Regions from separate parts of the Homo sapiens genome. Here all the other regions are linked to region 1. The links are contacts of gene promoters, found by promoter capture Hi-C in human tissues and cell types (Jung and others, 2019). All regions are on one chromosome and are shown on one strand. Each heading gives the region's core, a stretch centred on a gene start or on the middle of the fragment in contact. The rest is flanking DNA. Distances are from core to core; before and after follow the strand shown. Region 1 holds the start of GREM1 (gremlin 1, DAN family BMP antagonist). Region 2 overlaps ARHGAP11A-SCG5 (ARHGAP11A-SCG5 readthrough). Region 3 overlaps FMN1 (formin 1). Region 4 overlaps FMN1 (formin 1).

Region 1 (2,848 bases), core at 19-2,518:
GAAAAAAAAAATAGGCTGTTTTCTGGTCTGGTTTTGTTTTCCTAGTCAAGTACTTAAATTACGGGTGTTTCGTAAGTATCTTTTGATGGATTTCATTGTTTTGTTTATTTCGCGTTAGACAATACAGACACCTTCATATTTCCTTCTGTAGCAAATCTTTTTCAAAGTCTTCATTTGACGTGGCTGATGGAGCTGGTCTGCAGATCTTGCAGACGTGTTAATTTTTGCACGGACTTTAGCTTCAACACACAAAACTTACGGCCTCTTTGAGGAACCAATTTTTCAGGCTAAGAGAACAAATGAAAGTGTTCGCTCATCTTTCGAAAACTATTTATGTACTTGGTATCCGGAATGTGACATTGGTTTTACACGTCGGTAGGTTTTTGTCCTAAATTTCTGGGAAGTTACTTCCTCATCTAACGTTTTATTTTCCTGACTTATTCGTCTTTGATATGCTACAGAAAACCCCTCTCGCCCAGTGGCTGTTTTCTCTCTGTCTCTTAAGATAATTTAGGAACAGAAGCCTTGACTTTTGACGGTCATTTAGTTTTATTCTCCTCCCGTGACTCCCCTCTGTACACTCACAGGGGAGGCCGCCGGCATCTGGGCTGAAAGAACCCTTGGCGGGCGAGGAGAGCAGGGTGTCATGTTGGCGACAGGCTCCTGCTGGCGGCCAGCGAGCCCGCCAGGTTAACGGGGGCGCCGGGGTCAGCGCCCTCGAAGTTGGGGGCCTCGGGCGGGGCCGCCGGGGAGCCACGACGGCCGCTCGACCAGAGCATCCCGCAGTCCCGTTCCCTCCAGAGGGGAAGAATGGCCGAATCTGGCACGATCCCACGGAGATCTCGCTCTTCCCAGCGCAGTCTCCGCTACTGAGCGCGGGACCAACGCAGGCGATGCCGGGCGGCCGACAGGGAAAGCCCAGACCTGGGGCAGAGAAGGAATGAGGGGCCGCCAGCCGGGGGGATTTCCTCCCGCTCTTCCCTCTCCAACGGGAGCGGAAAATGTGATTTGCTGTGCATTCCAGGCGCGGTTCCCTGGGGTGACCTCTCCCAGCCGGCCCGGGCGGGGGGAGCAGACAAAGAGGCGAGGCGGGCGGAGAGGGGACCCCGCGGGGAAGCAGGAGGGGTGCGGGGGGCGGGGGCAGTACCGGGAAAGGGGGCGGATAGCGGGTCTGGCGGCGGCGGCGGCGCCTGGCCAATGGAGAGGCGCGGCCCCGGGCGCCGCGCTCTGCCGCCGGCATTTAAACGGGAGACGGCGCGATGCCTGGCACTCGGTGCGCCTTCCGCGGACCGGGCGACCCAGTGCACGGCCGCCGCGTCACTCTCGGTCCCGCTGACCCCGCGCCGAGCCCCGGCGGCTCTGGCCGCGGCCGCACTCAGCGCCACGCGTCGAAAGCGCAGGCCCCGAGGACCCGCCGCACTGACAGGTGAGCGCGGACGCACCCGGCAGGGATGTGAGTGGGCGGAGGGAAGAGGGCCGCAAACCAACCCAGGACCCGCTCAGTTCCACGCGCGGCAGCCCTCCGTGCGCGCAGGCTCGGGTGCGTTGTTCGCGGGGGTGAATTGTGAAGAACCATCGCGGGGTCCTTCCTGCTGAGGCCGCGGACACCGTGACCTCGCTGCTCTGGGTCTGCAGGGAAACGTAGGAAAAAAAGTTGTCAGGAGCGGGCAGGATGACCCCCACATCCCGTTTCCACCTCCCGGAGGCCCCCGAACACGCTCCTGGTGCTGGTGGCAGCAGCGCCTGGCAGACGCGCCCGCTTAGCGAGGGCGCGAAGTCCAGGCCGCCAGAGCGCAGGAGCATCCGGACCTGCTAGTCGGCCGCTGACTGCGCGGCGAGTTGCCTTGAGAGGGTCCCATGTGCTTGGGGCGCCGCGCTGGGTCTGGGGGCGTCTTGGGGCGCCCATTGGAGTCCGCGGGTTGGAGCATCCGGAGAATCCATGATGTGTGCATTTGCCGATCCCCGAGGTGAGATGGAGACTGGCAAGGGCAGAGCCGCTGTGTTCAGCCACAGCGGAAAACCGAACGGTGGGTAATCCGACAGCTGCGGTGCGGGGCGCGGCCCTGGCCGCGGGGTCCAGCGAACCCGCAGTGCTCACAAGGCAGACACCACACGCGCTCGCGGACCGGCCACGCACTCGCGGGCGCTCGCTTCTCTACTCCAGCCTCTTCCCCGCCCCGCGCACGCCCGGGCTGAATGGTAGACGTTCTGGCGCCGGGCAGCGGCCACCGGCTGGTTCCCACTTCCGCGCGCACCCCTTAAACTGTGTTCTAGAGGCCCCAGCCTCGCCTTGCAGCGCCTCACTAGCTCCTGAGGACTAGGGACTGGCGGCTGAGGCGGGTTGGCGGCTGCAACGAGCTGGGCGTCTTTCGTTCTCTCTCGCTGCCTGGCTGGCTCCGCTGGCCCCTCCACAGCTTGCGGAGCAAGGCCATAGCAGGGGAGTGGGAGGTATATTGGGGCTGTCACCTCCTTGCTGGCCGGAGTTATTTGTAGACTACAGACTCCGGAAGAACAGACGCGCCACCGCTCTCGCTTGGCATTGCCTTCGGATCGCAGCTCCTCCTTGGGGGTGCCCCAGCTTGGCGTTTATTTGCCTGCGCCAGGCTCTGGCGACGGTCACCGGGCCAGGCGGGGAGGGACGGACGGCAGGTGACCAGCCTCTGCTGTGAAGAAATTCCTGCGCGCCCGGAGCTGTCCCTAATGCATTCCCGGGTCGAATCCGTCTACTGCCTTCCCCTCCTCGACCGACTCCGAATCTCGGCTCTTATAGACAGAAATACAGCCTCAGCGTTAGGGGTTAAAATCCCCCTCTTAAACGGTCCGAGGGCAGAGAGGTGACCACCGATAG
Region 2 (2,963 bases), core at 79-2,578, 83 kb before region 1:
GTTGATGGTGTAATTTTAAAATTTCCTGTTAGAGGCTGGGCACGGTGGCTTATGCCTGTAATCCTAGCACTTAGGGAGGCTGAGGTGGGTGGAGCACTTGAGCTCAGGAGTTCAAGACCAGCCTGGGCAACATGGCAAAACCTCATCTCTACTAAAAAGTACAAAAATTAGCCAGGCATGGTGCCACATGCCTGTAGTCCCAGCTACCTGGGAGGCTGAGGTGAGAGGATCATCTGAGCCCAGGGATGTCAAGGCTACAGTGAGCAGTGATTATGCCATTATACTCCAGCCTGGGCCGCAGAGTGAGACCCTGTCTCAAAAAATAAAAAACAAAGAAAAAAATTCCTGTTAGGTTAAAAAGCTAGCCTATTCTAACAATTCTGAGTTATAACTGACTGACTAACTTTTAAGATTAGCAGATCATTTTTTATGCAAATGCAGTGTGTTCATGTATGGTATCTTAAAGTTGAACTGTTTTTAAAGAATTATTAATCCATCCAATTATTATCAATATGATTTGCTGTGGACTTTATTTCAAATTTCGTATTTCAAGTATTTCTCTGGTGTTTATACTATAAACTGACATTTTTAATTCCACTTCTTCTAGAGTGGAATCAGGAAAAGCAGGCTGCTTTTCTCCTAAAATCAGCCATAAAGAAAAGGTTCGAAGATCTCTGCGTTTGAAATTCAATCTAGGGAAAAATGGCAGAGAAGTAGTAAGTTTCTTACCATTTTATTGATCTTTATATTAGCATAACGCTATAAACTTGATACTAAAAAACACTCATAGCCCTACCTTCCTTCCAGTGACTGTCTCATTCTGTTCTTTTTATCCAAAACTCTTATACTTGAGTTGATATCAAATTTCCTTGCATTGGAGTACCCAAAGCTTAGTCCTTGGACTTCTCTTTTTTCTCTCCACTCACTCAAGGTGATCATCAGTTTTAAACATTATATACAGGTTGAGTAGCACTTATCCAGAATGCTTGAGACCAGAAGTATTTCAGATTCCCCATTTTTGGGGGGGATTTTGGAATATTTACATTATTTTTACTAGTTCAGCATCCCTAATCTGAAAGTCTGGAATGCTCCAGTGAGCATTTTCTTTGAACATCATGTCAAATACTTAAAAGCTTTGGATTTTTGGAGCATCCAGAACTTTGGCTTTTCAGATTTGGAATGCCCAACCTGTATTTACTTAAAACTTCCAAGTTTATGTTCTCTAGTCCCAAATGCTCTTCTGAATGACTCCGCTGTCTCTTAACATCTGCTTTTTTGACTCTCCTACTTGGATATCTAATCCAATAGGCATTTCAAATGTAACCTGTCCCAAGCAGATGGATTTCTTTGCTGCTGCTATGCCCTGCACCAAACAACACTTTTACCTGTGGTTTTCCCTATCTCAGTTATGGCAAATCGTTCTTCCAGTCACTTAAGCCAAAAACCATGGTCAAATCCTTGATTCCTCACTTTCTCTGAGACACCATGTCTAATCCATTAGAGAATCTTGTCTAACTTCTGCTTTTAGAGTATCTCCAAACTGACCAGTTCTCACTATTACTACTTTTCCCACTTTCTCTAAGTTCTGTCATCTCTCAGCTGGATTACTCTAGTAAACTCCTGTTAATAGTTCTTCCTTCTCCTACCCTTGCTGCAGTTCTGTAGTTGAAATTTATCTTTTAAAATCTGTTAGGTTATGTAGTTTTCTGCTCAGAACTCTCCAGTGACTCCTCGTTTCACTCTGAATAAAAGCCAGAGTTCTCATGTTGACCTGCAAAGGCCTCACGTGATCTGTTCTCAGGCTGCATTTCTGAGCTCTCCTCCAGTCCCCCTTGCTCACTCTGCTCCAGTCTCAGAGACTGCACTGGCATTCTGCTCTTTCTGTAGTGTTCTTCCCCCTTAAATCTTCATGGCTCTCACCTTTGTTTTGTTTTACTCACAAATTATCTCCTCATCACCCTATTTTAAACTAAACCTCCATTCTTCACCACTCCATATCCTTTTTACTCTGTTTTACTTTTCTCCGTAGCACTTTTCACCTTGTATATTGTATTTATGCAATATAATTTACTGTTTATCTTAAGTCTAAATTTCCCCATCTAAATAGAATGTAAATTACATAAGGATAAGATTTTGGTCTAGGTACCCCACTGCCCCAACTATTTGTGAACAGGCCCTAGCACAGAGTCAGAGCACACACAGAAATTATTTTAATTAATATGTGAGACTGTTTTAAAAATAGATCATAAAATATCAACTAATAGCAAAATCAAATGATTACAGTTTTCATTAGCAGGCAAGAATGTTTGTCATTGTTAAGAATTGTTTCTCAATTATATATCCCTTTTTAAATCAGCTAAAGATTTTGATAACTACAAAAAATTATTCTGTCTTTATATTTTGAATTAACTAGGCTTATTTCTTAACTAAAACTTTTTTTTTTCTGTACAGAATGGATGTTCTGGTGTCAATAGATATGAAAGTGTTGGTTGGCGACTTGCAAATCAACAAAGTTTAAAAAATCGAATTGAATCTGTAAAAACAGGTTTGCTTTTTAGCCCAGATGTTGATGAAAAGTTACCAAAGAAAGGTACATTTACATACTACTGTTAGAGTTTTACCTAAAAATCCTGCTTTAGTTGCTTTTTTAATGGCAAAACATATTAATTAATTTACTGTTCTAGAGATTAAAAGTTCATGTTTGAATAGTGAAAATATTAGAATTGGCAATGTATTTTTCTATCAACAATTGGGAAATGCTTATACATGTAAATATGAAAATGTTTGACATTCTTATGTTAAAAATTATTTCTTGTAACACAAATACTTTATTAGAATTAAATGCTTAGTGACTTATTTGCCATGTGCTTGGGTATTATTTCAAAACAAGGTTAAATACAAAGGATTAAGCACTGAACTGCTTTATTTTAGGTTCAGAAAAGATCAGTAAGTCTGAGGAAACC
Region 3 (2,700 bases), core at 84-2,583, 100 kb after region 1:
TATCCTTAAATCAATCTTCTTTTAAAACCCTGGCAAAGGCTAAATGTACTTAGGAAACTGAATTTACATGGCCACAGAACCCGACAAAAGTCTAATTTCCCTAATATTGGCTATTGCTTACAACATCAAATTACTTTTTAACCCATTTTTATTTCACTTGGTCAAGGGTTTGTCATAGCTGGAGGTTTAAAACGGGTCCACTAGAAATGGTACCCAAGAATTAACACGATGACTTCAAGAGCTCTGATGTTACCAAGTATCTAGGTGTGATGAAGGTCATAATCTGTCTCTTGGGTGATATTTGCAGGAAAAGAAAATGCTGAGAGAACTGGGATTCCCAAAGAAGATGCTGCAGAAGATATTTTCCACATTAAAGAACATTTGATCTGTTCCACCAGTAGATGAACCATTAGCAGAAGCAATCATTATCAGAGCCAGTAAAAGGAAATAAAGAAATGAGGCTTGGTTTTTAAAGTGACCACACTGCTTCTAAGTCAAGGTGAAAGTGCTGACAGTGAATTTATCAGAATTCCAGGTGGAATCCTCCAGAGTCACCTTTCAATCATAACTGTCATCCTCAGAGAAAAAGCTTTTGTTGAAGAAAAATTTGTACAAACATTGAATAATCACATTGATATGGTAACAATTTAACAATACATTCAATAAGAATGAATGTTACAGTGGGTCACTTTTTCCCTGCTTTTTATCAAACCTTTGTATTTTCCCCAGATTTTACAAGTAATAAATCCTCATTGTAGAACATTTGAGAAAGATATAAATAAGAAAATAAAAGCAGTGCATAAGACTTTCTCTGAGCAATGGCCACTATTAATATGCTGATTCATTTCATAAATGTATATATTTATAATCACACACTCATTTGTGCTTTAGTTATATAGTTGAAATTATATTGAATGTAATGTCCTTTCTTGCTTTTTCATTTTTTCCCTTGCATTTTATTTAACATAAAGGTATAGGTATAGGTCAACTTCTAAATGAATACTTTTATAATGAATTTATATTTAAATTTACAATTATTAAAAATAATTGTTGAAAAATTAGCCTTTATTTCAAAGTGAGTATGGAACCTATTCAAACAAAACATTTTCTAGAAACTCATGAAAGCATTTCAGAATAATTTTTTGACAGTTCTTCCTAAACGAGATCTTGTAGGAAAGAAGTGTTTATGAAGGATTATTAAAATATTACCAAATAGAATTAAGGCAGATTTTTATCTTTTGATTTAACTTGGAAATCATCCATTGCTTCACCCTTTAGTCTTCCTATTTTTGCGCCTTAGAGAAATGTTTTACATGGCTACCAGTGCATTTTAAAATAGTGTCTAATACTGCAAAGTAAGTTGAGATTTCTTTATCCTGTGCTTAAACCTAATATATACTACTTATTCTGTATTTGAAAAATATAGTATAAAGAAAATACCCTTAATGCAAAAAATATTGAGGATCAGTATATTCTTGGAAGCAAATGTGAAGCCTCTGTGTATATGACAAGCCACACACACAAGCACGCATTCAGTAGGAAACAGATCTCCCTCGAAATCTGAGAGGGTAAAATGTTCAAATATTATGCAAACTGGAGAAGTGCCACCATCTCCTGTACGCAGGAGCCTGAAGCTAATTGTACAAGTGGCACGAAGCTGATTTCAGAAAGTAAAAAAAAAAAAAAAGGCTCATGAAACCAGAGGCTTGAAATGTTTTACTGGAGAAAAACCATAGCATTACCTCCTCCTGTGGGATGATAACAATGATTTATGAAGCTGAAGTCATTCCTTGTGATTGCACTTCAGGGAGATTGGTTTCACATGATCTGCGAAGGCAGGCAAGGCGAGCTGAAGAAGAACCCCACATGTTCAACTGAGGCTGAGCTCTGCCTCTTCAAGGGGATTCCAGAGCTCCGAGGAGGGGGAGGAAAACCTACTGCTTTCTGATCCATGCAACCCCCTTCCCCCCAACCAACAAGCTTATTAGGTGGACATACGGCTCTCTTATTTTCTCTCTCCTTTTAAAAAGTATTACTACTTCTGCTGTGTGGGAGTAGAAGCTTGTTGTAAATGCCCAGCAGGATAGTAGCAAAGCCAAGATTAATTCCCTATGGATTTATATGGGTCGTTCTCACCCACGATGACTTGTACCGTTTCAAAGGTGCTTATGCTGCTGTTTTTATGGCTGGTCACTAACTTTATTCTGGCATATGGTGGTTGGCGCCATGACATGGAGTGAACATTTTATACCTGAATTAAAGTGGATATTTGACAGTTTCTGTCAGAAAGTTCAGAGCAAAGAATTTGTGGGACAAGATTTATTGCATATTTTATATGGGACACATCTGTTTCTTTGCTAGCTTTGTTCCTTCCCACAAAAAAATTTAAAGACGTTTCCTAAAGAAATATAATGACTGATAGGAAAAAAATTCCAAAGCAGAAGAAAAATATGGTCAAAAGTTGGGCATTTAGGATCTAACTTTATAAAAAAGAAAGAAAAAAAACCACTTCTCATTTTGACGAGGAAAAATGACTCACAGTCATGTATAGAAGCTCAGTGAAACAATGCTGTTATTATTGGCAATTATTTTATGGTTAGTTTAATGTCATTTATATAATGAAATTAAAAATGTAAATGTATTACCTACCATTTTTCGCATACTTGAAACAGGACTGGCAAGAATAATCTGCCTTTGATG
Region 4 (2,969 bases), core at 202-2,701, 83 kb after region 1:
AATTTACAGCTTTGAACTCAATCTTTCCCCCTCACCCCCACCTACCCCAAGCCTCACAAGCTCATTTGCCATGAGCAAGAACACTTAAATAAATGACCCCCTTTTCTAGGGTGTTGGAAACTAATCAAAGCAGGAATGGCTGGCCAGGTTTATTACTCAATGCTCTATCATCTGTTCAGACACAGTGGTTTTTTTTTTGTGTGTGGCCATCCTGAATACTGATTTTCTAATGGAACTCTATTCAATGGCGATTGTAAAACCCTGAAGCTCCGTTACTATTATGGAGCATACTTTCATCTCATTCTCGGTTATTGGGCAATATGTATCTCATAAGATTTTATCACATTTCACAGATGAACTGTTAATTGATTCCATGGGTACGATTAGGCGAGATCCAAGCTGGAGCTGCAGCTCTGAGTCCCATAAATTCTTTGTGCTTCTGTAAAGAATAAATCTGTTTTTAATGCAAATTAAAACTACTGGTCAGGGAATTTTGGCTCCCAGTTATTAAAAGACTGGAAATGTGTAAGTGGAGAAAGGCAATAACTGCAGTAATCTCTTAAGGGACTCTATTATAATTCCAAACATACATAATGTTGAGAAAAACCGGGAAGGGAAGAATGTGGCAATGTCCACTCTTGCCCCAGACATAACCCTTATTTCCATGGCAGTCCAAACACTGGTAAAACCAAATGTACACTCTATAGCATGTAACTTTATTTCACTCAAATGAAAATTATTTTGACTATAGCATGGGAATACATAAGTAGAGAGTTATATAACCTATAGGAACAGGCCATTCATTTCCTACAAAGTCACAGGACTTTAGAATGGGAAGGAATTTACAGGATGACTTGCCCAAATTATCATTTTATAGGTGACAAAACAGAGACCTGGAAAGACTGTGTGGCATTATTCCCTGGTAGGGTTGGGCCTGGAATTCAGGTCCCCTGATTTTCTGTGAAATGCTCTGTCTGCTTTATCTTTCTGTTGCTCATGCTCAATAACACAGGCATTTAAGAGACAAAATAGTCGTTCTACCCCACCCTTTTCTACTTTAGACACAGGTGTCCTCCTCTGTATCACACATAACATGCATTACCCCAGGGAGGGCATGTGATTATTTTTTCTCTTTCTTATGCTTACCTTCTATACAGATACATATTTATTTGAGCATTCATGGGGAAGGGAAAGTCTTTCATTTCTAGTATTTAGAGGGACAACTTATCTTCTGATTTTCCAGCAAAATATAGTGAAGTCCAGTTATTGTGCTTCATGGAACACCTGACACCTCTGGCATCACCTGGAGTCTAGATTGTGAGATCAACATATTGCAAATCCTGGTGCAGTTTCAGAGAATGTCAAGAGTGATTTGGTGGTTGTTGCACAGCCTGAGAAAAACACATCATCCTCCTGTGGGCCTCGATTTTCCCAACTCTAAACTGAAGCTAACCATTGCCCTCCTTGCCTCTCTCCCTGGGGATTTGTGAGGTACTGCTTGCTTACTCTCCCTGAAAGGGGGAGAAACACTAAAAAAAATACTAAATTTCAGCCTTTTTTTTCTTATGTGTTTTGGAAACTAAGAAAGCAAGTGAACCTCTTCAGAAGAACCAAAGTACACAGACTCCCAGAGGATGGCCTGGCTTTGGCACTCAGCAGCTTAGACAAAGATAAAGTCGCTTCAAGAATGTGCCTTATTTGGCCGGGCACAGTGGCTCACGCCTGTAATCCTAGCACTTTGGGAGGCCGAGGCGGGTGCATCACGAGGTCAGGAGATCGAGACCATCCTGGCTAACATGCTGAAACCCCATCTCTACTAAAAACAAAAACAAAAAAACAAAAACAAACAAACAAAAAAAAATTATTCAGGCGTGGTGGTAGGCACCTGCAGGCCCAGCCACTCAGGAAGCTGAGGCAGGAGAATGGCGTGAACCTGGGAGGCAGAGCTTGCAGTGAGCCCAGACTGCGCCACTGCAATCCAGCCTGGGCGACAGAATGAGACTCCGTCTCAAAAAACAAACAAACAAACAAAACCAGTGTGCCTTATTTGATTTCATTGTTATTCCACTGTTTAAGAAAATGCTAAAAGCTAGAATATGAACCTGCAATGGTTTGATAAGGCCTAGACTGTTGTCTTTCCTAGACAAAACTCCATTTTAAATTCAGTTTTGATTCACAGAGATTGACCACTGAAAATCTTTTGCAATTTGGACAAGAAAATTGTTGATATTTAACAACCAGGAGAATTTTCTCTAATATACAGGAAACAAAGGTCAATCATGCGATTTGAAATTTCTATTTGTTAGCAGATAGCTCTAAAATGGCTCTCAAATTTTAGAAGATTGATTTCTAATCCTATGTTTGGTTTTATATAACTTTTTCATTTCATGCAAACTAGTCCCTGACCCCTTTTCTCTCTGCTATAATTCCCTGTCTGATTTGTATCTTTTTAATTCAGCCAAACATTTTTAAAGTACAGACAATGATTACATCAAAGAGCCTGTAGCGAAGTGAACTGTTTTACTTTTACAGTCCTGAGATCCAGAGCGGAACACATCCACTTATTGTCTTACATGCATGCCTTCAGAAACTGCTTAGGAAAAGCAAATATGCCTTAGCCTCAGAGTAAATTGTTTCTCTTGAGAATAAAACATAAGAATTCACTAATCTCACACAAATATTGCAACACTGACCACAACCTCCTTAAAGAGTATAACCAAACAACTGTGGTTTCTACATTAAAGATGGGATCTAACATATTTCATGTATGACATGAAAGCTAGACTACCTTCACCACAAAGCCACGGAAAACGCTGACAACCAGAATTTATGACTCCCCTCCACAGAGCTAATGCACGGCAGCAGTTTCGGCCCCTCCACGCTGGGCCCCCTTTTCCTTCAGCAAGAATCCTGAAAAAGTATTAGAAATTTGACATCCGCCCCAGAAGCTGAATTTCTGTTTGGCCTGA

What was found. The method cuts DNA at HindIII sites, captures the fragments that hold promoters and counts their contacts. A contact is called where the count stands out against the background at its distance.
Region 2: a fragment that was not itself captured here is called in contact with the fragment with the promoter of GREM1 in region 1 in 4 of the 25 tissues and cell types used here (IMR-90 fibroblasts, lymphoblastoid cells, ovary and 1 more).
Region 3: a fragment that was not itself captured here is called in contact with the fragment with the promoter of GREM1 in region 1 in 7 of the 25 tissues and cell types used here (IMR-90 fibroblasts, adrenal gland, aorta and 4 more).
Region 4: a contact is called between a fragment that was not itself captured here and the fragment with the promoter of GREM1 in region 1, in 5 of the 25 tissues and cell types used here (H1 embryonic stem cells, IMR-90 fibroblasts, lymphoblastoid cells and 2 more).

Annotation. Positions count from the first base shown.
Region 1 is chr15:32,716,736-32,719,583 of GRCh38, forward strand. GREM1 (gremlin 1, DAN family BMP antagonist) reads left to right here and starts at 1,269. Exons shown (of 2, transcript NM_013372.7): 1 at 1,269-1,426. It overlaps GREM1-AS1 (GREM1 antisense RNA 1), which reads right to left and starts at 2,130. Exons shown (of 2, transcript NR_109767.1): 1 at 1,810-2,130; 2 at 1,366-1,629. RefSeq lists enhancers at 775-1,275, 1,413-1,991, 1,992-2,569. The HindIII fragment of the contact is 12,229 bases long and covers 1-2,848 here.
Region 2 is chr15:32,633,326-32,636,288 of GRCh38, forward strand. The region is part of intron 9 of ARHGAP11A-SCG5 (ARHGAP11A-SCG5 readthrough); the gene reads left to right. It overlaps ARHGAP11A (Rho GTPase activating protein 11A), which reads left to right. Exons shown (of 12, transcript NM_014783.6): 10 at 608-716; 11 at 2,452-2,590; 12 at 2,932-2,963. Among named protein-coding and RNA genes, the nearest start is that of SCG5, 6.9 kb to the right of the region's middle. The HindIII fragment of the contact is 4,296 bases long and covers 1-2,963 here.
Region 3 is chr15:32,817,257-32,819,956 of GRCh38, forward strand. All of the region lies in intron 17 of FMN1 (formin 1), which reads right to left. LOC107984089 (a long non-coding RNA gene) reads left to right here. Exons shown (of 3, transcript XR_002957769.2): 3 at 308-2,700. Among named protein-coding and RNA genes, the nearest start is that of GREM1-AS1, 100 kb to the left of the region's middle. The HindIII fragment of the contact is 3,457 bases long and covers 1-2,700 here.
Region 4 is chr15:32,799,785-32,802,753 of GRCh38, forward strand. The region is part of intron 18 of FMN1 (formin 1); the gene reads right to left. All of the region lies in intron 1 of LOC107984089 (a long non-coding RNA gene), which reads left to right. Among named protein-coding and RNA genes, the nearest start is that of GREM1-AS1, 82 kb to the left of the region's middle. The HindIII fragment of the contact is 4,298 bases long and covers 1-2,969 here.